Regions from separate parts of the Homo sapiens genome. Here region 1 is linked to region 2. Evidence: promoter capture Hi-C in 16 types of primary human blood cells and fetal thymus (Javierre and others, 2016). All regions are on one chromosome and are shown on one strand. The core of a region is centred on a gene start or on the middle of the fragment in contact, and the rest is flanking DNA. Distances in the headings are between cores, read along the strand shown.

Region 1 (2,700 bases), core at 139-2,638, 1.0 Mb before region 2:
ATGCACACACACCACACACACGCACACACACAACCACACACATTCATACACATGCACATACACAACCACACACCACATTCGTACACACACAATCACACACATGCACACACAGCACACACACATGCACACCCCCCACACCCCCCCATGCAAACACACAACCACACCCCCCACACGCACACACACCCACACCACACACATGCACATACACACACACCACACCCACAACCACACCACACACATGCACACAACCACACACATGCACACAAACACCACACACACACCCACACCACACACCCACACACAACCACACACATGCACACATACACCACACACACCCACACCACACACCCACACACAACCACACACACTCACACCCACACCACACACACACCCACACTACACACACCACACAAACCACACACATGCACATACACCACACACACGCACACACACACCACAGACACGCACACCACACACACACATCCCGGCGAGTGTCTCTCTCTGTAGGACAATTTGCTTCCTAAACACGGCGTGGTGGAAACAATGATTTCAGCAAGCTTCTTGCTCACCAGAAATCGTCGGCTGCCTGATCTCCTTCGACTCCAGCTGGGAGCTTTTCCCCTAAGATGATCGTGTTCTTTCATCACGATATCTATTTATATTAACCGCTCTACCTTCCTGCTCGTCCAGCCTGGCGGGGCGTTTTCAAGGCTGAGGGGAGAAGAACTTTGTCTCGTTTCATCAAATCTGCCCTCTCTGGAGGGCTGCTGATGGACAGGTGACCCTCCAGAGGGAGGGTCTGTAAATACCCCTCGGTCACCTACCTGGCCCTCGGGGAGGCACTCAGCCCTGCCGGCCAAACAAGCACACCCTGGCTGTGCCCCACTCACACACTCTCACACCCACACGCACCAACTCACGCGCCCACACTCTCACACACACACGCACCAACTCACGTGCCCACACTCACTCACACACACCCACACTCACACACTCACATGCATCAACTCACACGCCCACACTCGCACTCACAGACACGCGCCCACACTCACGCTGTCACGTGCGCCGACACACGCACCGGCCCACACGCCCACACTCACACACACTGACATGCCCCGGCTCACACGCCAACCCTCACATGCTCTCACACGTGCCAACACATGCACTGGCTCACACGCCCCTCACTCTCATGCGTGCCAACACAAGCACTGGCTCACACGCCCACCCTCATGCGCTCTCACACACACACGCACCAGCTCACGTGCCCACCCTCGTGCTCTCACATCCTCCAACACACGCACCAGCTCACGCGCCCACACGCGCTCACACACACGCACCGGCTCACGCGCCCACACTCATGCACTCTCACGTGTGCCAACACATGCACCGGCTCACGCGCCCACACTCACACACTCTCATGCACGCCAACACATGCACCGGCTCACGTGCTCACACTCACACACTCTCACACATGCCAACACAGGCACCAGCTCACGCACCCACACTCATGCACTCACACACACACCAGCTCACACACCCACACTCACACGCTCTCACACGCACCGACACATGCACCAGCTCATGTGTCCACACACACGCTCTCACACACACACGCACCGGTGCACGCGCCCACACTCACACACTCTCACACGTGCATACTTATTAAAGCAAAGGCTCTTTCTGCAAAGTGCCCAGTGGGAGCCTGTGCACCTCATTCCCAGATATTATACTTCCTCTCTGTCCTGTTCTCCTCTCCTCTCGCTCTACCCACCCCTTCTCTTACACCCATGCACACACACGTTTGTACACAGCCCAGGGCACAGGTGAGCGCCTTGGTGGGAAAGACACCACCAGGAATGACACCCCCTCCGTCTGTGTGGCCAGTGAGGTGGGGGCTTAGGGCTTCCATCTGCCTGTGCCATGGGTGTGTCACCCAGCAGGTGGACACGGAGTCTGGCCATGAGCGCCTGCGCAGCTGTGACCTCTCCTGCAAGCAACTGACCATTCCTGGAAAGGGCCACGCCATTTGGACTCCCTCACTTGTTTGCAAATTCTCCTCTCCAAGCCTGAAGACCCCCTTCTGCAGTTGCACCAAAGGACACTGTGCAGTGGCCTGGGGGATACCAGGGCTGCGTTGCTTGTGTCTGATCTAATTTCTAAGGGAATGAGAATCTTCATAAACCCGATCTGCCCACATCTGGGGTTTTCCTTTAAGCTTTATCCCCTTAGCAAAAAGCCAAGGCACAAAGGTGAGCCGAGTGTGTGGACAAGAAGCGCAAGAGTCGCCGAGGCGGGGCAGGGCCAGTTGAGTTTCCCTGTCCTCACTCCATCCACGAGGGATGGGGAGCAGCCTGCAGTGTGGTGGGAACAGTGGGCTCCAGCTGCCCAGGGTGCTGCAGCTCTTGGAATGCACATCATTAAAGCGATGCAACGGGACTTTAGAACGCTCGTCTGCAGGCCCAGAGAGGCAAGGAAGTTTAAACCTAGGTCCAATTTTCTTGCTCCTGAGCTTGCTATAGAACTCCACGTTGTCATCTGAGGCACCAACTGGTGCCGCTCTCACTGGAGTCACTTGACCTGCAGCTGGGAGCAGTCACCCCCCGCCCCAGCCCCTGACTCCTGCCCAGCTCGCACCGTGCTGGCTTCTCCCAGAGGAAAGGGGTACTGTGTATCGGGGTGCCGGAGCCGGGCACACTGCAC
Region 2 (2,751 bases), core at 42-2,541:
ATTCCTGCAGTGTGGGGCTCTGGCTTTGTGACTGGGCTGTGCCAGTCTGGGGATGATCCCACAGCTGAGCTCCTGTAGATGGAACCAGAGGTGAGGCAAGGAACTGGAGGCCCTCCCCACTGAGGTCAGCGGGGCGCAGACGCCCCCTTGTCGTGCCCTGCCTTCCTCCTGCAATCCTGCAGGACTCTCCAGGGCCAAGTGCTGCCCTTGGGGCCAAAAAACAGGGCCTTCTCCTTCACCTGCCCTGCAGCCATTCAGGTATGTACCAGGCATCTCCTGCCCTCCCTGGCCAGGCGGCCCCAGAGGCACAGGCCGCAGACACCGCAGGCGACCTGCGTGGGCCTCCAGTTCCCGCCCCAGCCCTTCCCACCCCCAGCTCAGGGCAGGTCCAGCTGTGGCCAGCGGCTGGGGAAGGTTCTGTCCCCTCCAGGTGTGCGGCCTTGGCAAGTGCTTCAGGCCTCCCTCCGCTCGTCCCCTGGGAGCAGAGGGATCGGAGCGCCTGCGATGTGGTTCCCCAGAGCACCTGCGGGGCTCAGGCCAGGCAGGGTGGAGGGTGGAGGGTGGAAGGCCACCTTCCGCCCGTCCTGGAACCACGCGGCGGCTTCCCGGCTGCCCCCCACCCGCCAGGCCCTGCCTCCCGTGGGCACCAGGGGGGCGTCCACACCAAGCCGGCCGTGTGCTTTTCGCGCAGGATTACTGGGGAAGGCGGCTGCTCGGGGCCTGGAAGGTCCCGGGTCTCGCCTCGTGCCCCTCTGGCCCCCAAACCGACCGGCTCCCCGGAACTGGCCAACCCGCGCTGAGAGCCCGCGCAGCTCAAAGGGCGCGAGGGCGGGACCGCCGCGGCCGGCGCTGGGAGCTCGGCTTCCCGAAGACCCAAGCGAAAGCCTCCGTCTCCCCAGCCGTAAATGGGCCTGCAGCGTCTCCACTCCGCAGCGCTGTCCCCAGTGGGAGGGCGGCCCGTGGACGTGCAGGGAGCAGAGCAGGGGCCCCTGGCAGCGTAGGACCCCGAGGTCGCAGCAACCACGCGGCCGCGAGCCCATCCCGCTGCCTCGCCAGCGCCCCTCGCGCGTGCCCCGCCCCCACCTCGGCTCGCGGGCCCCGCCCCGCTCCGCTCCGCCCTGCGCCTCCGACTACCTTCCCGCTGCCCCGCCCCGCGCTGCGCTGGTTCGGACTCCAGCCCCGCTTCCGCCCGGGCCCTGGCCCCGCCTCCAGCCCCAGTCCGGCCCCGCCCCAGCACCTTGACGCAGAGGTCTGCGCCGCACGCAGAGCCACGTCGTGCCGTCATCAGTTCTCGCCCGTCTGGGCGTGGGCGTGGCCGGCGTGGCTGCTCGGGACCACCCGAACCCGCGGCCATGGCCCCGGCCGCCGCCAGCCCCCCGGAGGTGATCCGCGCGGCGCAGAAGGACGAGTACTACCGCGGTGGGCTGCGGAGCGCGGCGGGCGGCGCCCTGCACAGCCTGGCGGGTGAGGGCCGGGCGCGGCCGGACGTCCTCGCGAGCGGCCCAGGGGGTGTTGCCCCTCATGGAGGCGGGGTGTCTGCCGTGTGTGGTCACGGTCGCCTGGGCCCGTCCCACAACCTGGGACCCGGCAGTCTCCTTCGCCTGCCCTGCGGCCATTCAGGGATGTGCGGGGCACCTCCTGCCCTCCCTGGCCAGGTGGCCCCAGAGGCACAGGCCGCAGACACCGCGGGGGACCTGCGTGGGCCTCCAGTTCCCGCCCAAGCCCTTCCCGTCCCCAGCTCAGGGCAGGTCCAGCTGACGCCAGCGGCTGGGGAAGACTCTGTCCCCTCCAGGTGTGAGGCCTTGGCAAGTGCTTCAAGCCTCCCTCCGATCCTCCCCTGTGAGCAGAGGGGTCAGAGCGCCCGCGGCGCGAACGCCTCATACCTCGGTCCGGTTCACACTGACCCCGGCCTTTCCTAGGCCTGAGCAGCAGCCCAGGCCCCTCGCCCTGCTGACCCCAGTGTAGGCTCAGCCAGGCCCTGCCTGCCTCACCAGGCCGGGAGCTGAGTACAGAAGCCAGTGTACTCAATGAAGCAGCACCTGTCATCCCAGCAGTTTGGGAGGCAGAGGCGGGAGGATCGCTTGAGCCCAGGAGTTTGAAACCAGCCTGGGCAACATGGCAAGACCCCGTCTCTACAAAAAATCTGAAAATTAGCCGGACGTGGTGGCGGCGTCTGTAATCCCAGCTCTTCAGGAGGCTGAGGCAAGAGAATCGCCTGAGCCCGAGGGATGAGGCTGCAGTGAGCCATGATTGTGCCGCTGCACTCCAGCCTGGGCGACGGGGCCAGACCCCATCACCGATTAAAAAACGAAAAAAAAAAGATGCCGGGTGTGGTGGCTCACGCCTGTAATCCCAGCACTTTGGGAGGCCGAGGCGGGTGGATCACTTGAGGTCAGGAGTTCGAGACCAGTCTACACAACATGGTGAAACCCCGTCTCTACTAAAAATACAAAAATCAGCAGGGCGTGGTGGCGCGTGCGTGTAATCCCAGCTACTTGGGAGGCTGAGACAGAATCACTTGAACCCGGGAGGCGGAGGTTGCAGTAAGCCAAGATCGTGCCACTGCACTCCAGTCTGGGCAACAGAGTGAGACTCCATCTCAAAAAAAAAAAAAAAAAAAAAAAGGCAAAGCCATCAAGTCTTTGGGGGGTGGGGCAGGCAGTCGTTAAAGGCATGAACTCCCAGCAGAACGTTTCAGGGAGCAGTGGCACTAGAGCCCAGTGGTGGGGGTGTCGTGGCCAAAGGAACAGT

Evidence for each region. Contacts are between HindIII fragments. The CHiCAGO score rates a contact against its expected background, and 5 or more counts as called.
Region 1: a contact is called between a fragment that was not itself captured here and the fragment with the promoter of PEX10 in region 2, in 1 of 17 cell types (endothelial precursors). The highest score is 6.9, in endothelial precursors.

Annotation. Positions count from the first base shown.
Region 1 is chr1:3,407,429-3,410,128 of GRCh38, reverse strand. The region is part of intron 8 of PRDM16 (PR/SET domain 16); the gene reads right to left. Among named protein-coding and RNA genes, the nearest start is that of ARHGEF16, 46 kb to the left of the region's middle. RefSeq lists an enhancer at 1,091-1,668. The HindIII fragment of the contact is 1,658 bases long and covers 560-2,217 here.
Region 2 is chr1:2,411,104-2,413,854 of GRCh38, reverse strand. It overlaps PEX10 (peroxisomal biogenesis factor 10), which reads left to right and starts at 1,291. Exons shown (of 6, transcript NM_002617.4): 1 at 1,291-1,464. The coding sequence starts at 1,353. RefSeq lists enhancers at 322-901, 902-1,482, 1,483-2,063, 2,064-2,644 and silencers at 566-1,165, 1,326-1,705. The HindIII fragment of the contact is 16,041 bases long and covers 1-2,751 here.